Regions from separate parts of the Homo sapiens genome. Here region 1 is linked to region 2. The links are contacts of gene promoters, found by promoter capture Hi-C in blood cells and fetal thymus (Javierre and others, 2016). All regions are on one chromosome and are shown on one strand. Each heading gives the region's core, a stretch centred on a gene start or on the middle of the fragment in contact. The rest is flanking DNA. Distances are from core to core; before and after follow the strand shown. Region 1 holds the start of KRT6B (keratin 6B). Region 2 holds the start of KRT2 (keratin 2).

What was found. The method cuts DNA at HindIII sites, captures the fragments that hold promoters and counts their contacts. A CHiCAGO score of 5 or more calls a contact.
Region 1: a contact is called between the fragment with the promoter of KRT6B here and the fragment with the promoter of KRT2 in region 2, in 4 of 17 cell types (endothelial precursors, naive B cells, monocytes and 1 more). The highest score is 7.6, in endothelial precursors.

Annotation. Positions count from the first base shown.
Region 1 is chr12:52,450,788-52,453,659 of GRCh38, reverse strand. KRT6B (keratin 6B) reads left to right here and starts at 1,514. Exons shown (of 9, transcript NM_005555.4): 1 at 1,514-2,121. The coding sequence starts at 1,582. The HindIII fragment of the contact is 8,192 bases long and covers 531-2,872 here.
Region 2 is chr12:52,650,920-52,654,256 of GRCh38, reverse strand. KRT2 (keratin 2) reads left to right here and starts at 2,046. Exons shown (of 9, transcript NM_000423.3): 1 at 2,046-2,699. The coding sequence starts at 2,115. The HindIII fragment of the contact is 4,749 bases long and covers 1-3,337 here.

The DNA of each region.
Region 1 (2,872 bases), core at 265-2,764, 200 kb after region 2:
GCAGACACAACACAATCACAATTGAAAAAGACAATATTTTTATGTTTTGTACATATGAATACATGAAATATTTTATATACATAAAACACACTCAAACACATACACACAAAACATTCATGTATTTATTTATATACCTTTCTACAATGCAGGCTCCCTCTCTATATATGCCAACTCCCTCCACCTCTTCCTCACCCATACAAACACACGTTGACACAAACACATATGCACAGACATGTCACCCATGGCCCAGGAAAAGCACAGGAAAATATCCAAGTAAAGATACAAGGATACACAAGGAACTGCTAACATTACTTCCTCCATAGATAGGAATTGGGTAACTGGGGAATGGCCTTGAGCTATATTATTTTGTTGTTTAGCATGTTTTACAAAAAATTTTTTAAAACATGTATCATGTATTCAATTTGTAAACATGTAAATAATTGTGCAAATAGTACTATTCAAAATTTAAATGGGCAATCTACTACATTTACTTCTAGAATGTTTAAATATAGACAGAATCTTAATAAGCTTCTAATTTTAATATGAAATATGAAGGTTAGAGTCTCATATTAAAGGAAACAATAGGGGTATGCAATTAGAAAAATCCCAAGAATGAAAAAGTACAATGAACAGTTAACCTGTTTTATTTAACAAATAAAAGTAAGAAATGAAGGGAGATTTTTAAATTTCAATGATTTAAAGGATATATCACTCAAATACAACGTTTATAGAGCTTATTTTGACTCTGATTGGGACACCAAAATATAAGAAATATATATCAAAAATAGGACTGCTTGAAGACTAAATAGACACTTGTTCATTTTAATTAGTATGTAAATTTTTAAGATATAAAAATAGTGTTTTGATTTTTTAAAGGACCTATTATTTAGATATTAATATTGAATTATTGATTGAAGACATAATATGACTTCTGGAATTTCCTTTCAAACAATCTAGAATGGAAGAGGAAATAGGGTTGAAGTATGAAAGAAATCAGGCTGGCCATGAGATGATCATCATGGAAGCAGGTGACAGGTATATACAGGCCCATTGCAGTGTTCTGCTTCTCTACCTGTTTAAAATTGCACCTAAAAGGTGAAACAATTATGGGGAAATTGTAATATTTCTGTTAAGGAATTCACAATACAGTGCCTGTGATCTCCAACAGCAAGGCTGGAAGAAAGTCAGACTGGGAAGAGGAGGGCACTCAGGGCATGTCGATAAACAGCCTAGCATGCAGAACCTTTGCTGAAGACAGTGACTAATTCCAACTTCATGAATTGAGAATACTCTTATTGTGCTGAGATCTCAAGTCAAAGCTGGAGGCAGGAACATTTTGCCTGACTAAAGGAAGCGAAAAATGCAATCTCGGTATTTCATAACTTTTGTAATAATGCAGGTGTGATCTCACTATTTGTAAAGCCCAGCCCTTCCCAACCTGCAAGCTCACCTTCCAGGACTGGGCCCAGCCCATGCTCTCCATATATAAGCTGCTACTGGAGTCCGATTCCTCGTCCTGCTTCTCCTCCCTCTCGCCTCCAGCCTCTCACACTCTCCTAAGCCCTCTCATCTCCTGGAACCATGGCCAGCACATCCACCACCATCAGGAGCCACAGCAGCAGCCGCCGGGGTTTCAGTGCCAACTCAGCCAGGCTCCCTGGGGTCAGCCGCTCTGGCTTCAGCAGCATCTCCGTGTCCCGCTCCAGGGGCAGTGGTGGCCTGGGTGGCGCATGTGGAGGAGCTGGCTTTGGCAGCCGCAGTCTGTATGGCCTGGGGGGCTCCAAGAGGATCTCCATTGGAGGGGGCAGCTGTGCCATCAGTGGCGGCTATGGCAGCAGAGCCGGAGGCAGCTATGGCTTTGGTGGCGCCGGGAGTGGATTTGGTTTCGGTGGTGGAGCCGGCATTGGCTTTGGTCTGGGTGGTGGAGCCGGCCTTGCTGGTGGCTTTGGGGGCCCTGGCTTCCCTGTGTGCCCCCCTGGAGGCATCCAAGAGGTCACTGTCAACCAGAGTCTCCTGACTCCCCTCAACCTGCAAATTGACCCCGCCATCCAGCGGGTGCGGGCCGAGGAGCGTGAGCAGATCAAGACCCTCAACAACAAGTTTGCCTCCTTCATCGACAAGGTGAGCCAGTGCCATGCCCTCCATCGGGCACTTCAGGGTCCCCAGACCAGAAGAGCAACACCTTCCTGCCGGAGAGACCCTAGGAGGGAGGGAGAAGGGGACTCAGCCCAGCTCTGCAGAGAGTGCAGGTGGCTCTCGGTGCACAGGAGGCAGCACAGATGGGCATCACTCCCCCATGGGATATCTGGAGTGGCCCTCACTCCTGCCTAGGGAGAGCCATAACTTTTCATAACCCTGAAGCACAGATGAGGCCATCAGAGAGTGGAGTAGGTTAATTCTCCCCTCTGAAGTGTTTAAGAGATTACAAAGCAAATGCCAGGAGTATATGGGCTGGTAAATTACACTCTGGGGTCTGGGTAAGAGGAAAAAGATTTAGAAAGAAAAGGAAAAGATAATCTGGCTGGATTAAGAAAAAAAGGGACATAGAAACAACTGTAAAACATGGATAAATGCTAATTAATTTTAAAAACAGAGAATGACCATAACATCAGAATATTTGAGAGGAGACACTAAATGGGAAAGTAGACTGAAATGTAATCATGAGTCAACATCTAATATCCCTCCTAACTAAGATCCTCTCGGTAAAAAAAACTGTGTACAATATATCAGGTAATTAGTATTTTTAAACTAGATTTGTGATTGTGCTTGGAAAAAGAAAAGAAGAAATGTTGAAACTCACTGATGATCAATAGCTTACAGTGCGAGAACACCTCAGTGGTCCGTGGGACAATTTCTCTAGTGAGACTGGTGG
Region 2 (3,337 bases), core at 797-3,296:
TGTTACATAATATTCAAATTGCATTAATTCTAGTCTCCACATTTCAAAAGAGTAGGAGGACTCTTTCAACTTGACTTTCAAAAATTGGTGAATGGGTCTAGAAGGAGAAGATGTTCAGTGGAGAGAGTGGGGAGGGAGACCAGGGTGTGAGGGCAGAATTAAAATGCAGTAAAACATGCAGATTGGGTGCCTAGCACAAATCTGGCTCAATTTCCTTCATAGAGGCATTAAGACCCCCCTGAAGCTGCCATAGTGTGAGCACAGTCATGGTGGAGTAAGGGACGACTAGGGCATTGCTCAGATATCTGTAGATAATGACACATTTTGCTTTGGATTGAGACTGTCTCCAAAGCTGTTAGCTTCATGATTTGTTTGCATGATTATAATTATGCAAACCAGATTGGAAAAAATAATTGAGGAGACATGTAGCTTTGTTTCCTTCAGCATTCTTTTACTGCAAATTAAATACCTTGAATAGTAGTTAAGACAGGATTGGAAACTTGGCGGGGAAGATGCAGAAGGGTGAATAGCATTTATTGAGTTTCTGCTATGAACTAGGAACTGTGTTTAGCACATGTGTGTATTGTTCTGTTTTCACAGTAGCCATATTCTTATTATTCTTGTTCACTTTTTATAGATGAGGAAACTGAGGCTTGAAGAGGATTATGGATTATCTGAGGTCATTTAACTAAGATACAAGAAAATTGGGATTTGACCTCAAACTTATGTTTTTTACATTATTTTGTGATAACTTGGTACTAGGATCTGAACCACCTGGTTCTGTAATTTATGATGCCTGTGGAGAGTGCATGTTCATAGTAGCCAGAAGACAGTAACATGGCAAGGGGGAAAGGAAAAGGAATTATCTTTGTCTCACCCCAAACAATAATGATACTGACATTTTATTGTGCACGGTGGTTTTCAAAACACTTCATACGAATTTCCCATTTTATAGCTGGGACCACAGAGCCTCAGGGTTTCATTCAAGGCCTCACAGCCAATAAATAGCAAAACTGGGACTCAAACCCAGAATTTCTGACTAAATTCAGTTTTATTACTCCAAGAACCTCTCCCACATAGTTGGCCACATGGACAGAGGAAGTGGTTGAGTTTAAGTGTGAGTGCTCTGTGCAGGCTGGATGGTCTTCTTATCCTCAAGCATCTGTGGATGTCATTGAAGAGCCTGACTTCCTAATCACTTCCCAGGATCACCAGGCAATACGTGATTACTGACTGACTGAATCAATATACACTTGGATCTTGGTTTGCAAACTTTCACTTGGTGTCCCGCATCACACAGGTCCAGAAACAGCGAAACTTTTCTCATACCTCTCAACCTCTGGGTGTTCATGTAGACAAGGGACAGTTGATGGTTATACAAACCATCATGGTTATAAAAAATCTCTATTCGGTGCCTAGTTATTGTGTATTTTTGGTGTGGCATGGGAAGAAAAGAGCCAAGATATTTTGAAAATCGACACCTCTTTTGCAGTATCCGAGGCCAATTACTTTCTGTAAGAGGAGGTCGATTTCCAATTAGCATTTAAGGTCATTTAAGACCTTTGCAGTCTCCCCTGCACTAGTTGGGGCTCTTTCTGGGAAAGAGGGAAACTACAAGAGAACTACAAGGCTGGCATTGAGGGGCTCTTGCAGTCTCTAAACCCACCATCCCTTTCATTGTTGAACTGGGGTGGTGAGCCTGCACAAGCATGGGTGGTAGCTGACTTCCCTTGGGCAGGTCCAGAACAGGGAGCAGCATTCTGCAGAAGGTCCTTTTCCAGATTGAGAAACCCAAACCCTGATCTCCTCTTTTGATGATTTTACAAAAATCAAATTGCATGACAGATGCCCAGATAAACAGAAGTTTGCAATCAAAGCAAGTTCTGGGATGGAGCTGATTAGTAGATTTTTAATGGCTATTAGCTTGATAATCACGCACCAGGAATAGCTCCCAGGCAGACCAAACCCACGTATAAGTGGATCCACACCCATGTACACAACACCTAGTTGGCAGGTATATAAGGGGACCCTGAAAGCCTCCCAGCAGCACAGTTGAGTCTCCAGCCTTGACTCTTCTCAAGAGCCTGTGACTTTCCTCCCTGGACAAAGGCATCATGAGTTGTCAGATCTCTTGCAAATCTCGAGGAAGAGGAGGAGGTGGAGGAGGATTCCGGGGCTTCAGCAGCGGCTCAGCTGTGGTGTCTGGTGGAAGCCGGAGATCAACTTCCAGCTTCTCCTGCTTGAGCCGCCATGGTGGTGGTGGCGGGGGCTTCGGTGGAGGCGGCTTTGGCAGTCGGAGTCTTGTTGGCCTTGGAGGGACCAAGAGCATCTCCATTAGTGTGGCTGGAGGAGGTGGTGGCTTTGGCGCCGCTGGTGGATTTGGTGGCAGAGGAGGTGGTTTTGGAGGCGGCAGCAGCTTTGGAGGTGGCAGCGGCTTCAGTGGTGGTGGTTTCGGTGGAGGCGGCTTTGGTGGAGGCCGCTTTGGAGGTTTTGGGGGCCCTGGTGGTGTTGGAGGTTTAGGGGGTCCTGGTGGCTTTGGGCCTGGAGGATACCCTGGTGGCATCCACGAAGTCTCTGTCAACCAGAGCCTCCTGCAGCCTCTCAACGTGAAAGTTGACCCAGAGATCCAGAATGTGAAGGCCCAAGAGCGTGAGCAGATCAAAACTCTCAACAACAAATTTGCCTCCTTCATTGACAAGGTGACTCTGGAGAAGACGGCTCCCACTGATGCTCAGGCCACTTCACTTCCAGAGCCAACCAAAAAGAAAATGGCACAGATTTGTATTTCTTAGGAGCCAGTGGTGTACCGCAGTAGCCTGGGTCATTTGCGGTTTCCAGATGGAAAAGACGCCAGCTTTGTGGGTTACATTTCCCATAACAGCCTGCACTTAGGAAGCATTTGTCCCTTTGACCTTATTGTTACAGTCCATATAAATAATATTTATGGAAAATTCTGAAAACCATAAAAAATGGATATAGGCAAGTATTGAACTGATCCTTGGGACAGGCCACTGGAGCAGCAGGTTTTGGAAGCCATCGTCTTCTGAGATAGTGTTTCCTTCCTTAGCAGTGATTACTAAACTCTGGGAAGCTGAACCTGAAATATCTGCTTGGGAATGCAGGAAATTCCTGCCTTCAAGAGAAGCGTTCTCAGTTTTGTGATCCATAAAGTCTTTATTGGTGTCACTTCGGAGTGTTACTGGCTTTTCTCCTATTTCAAGGCAGACGAACCTGTCTTGGTTTATCTGCCTTGAAATAGGCAGGGATTTACAAGGCTCTTAAAAATCAGGCTGAGGAGCCCTGCCCTCTGGGACTCTCATACTCAGCACCCTTGCGA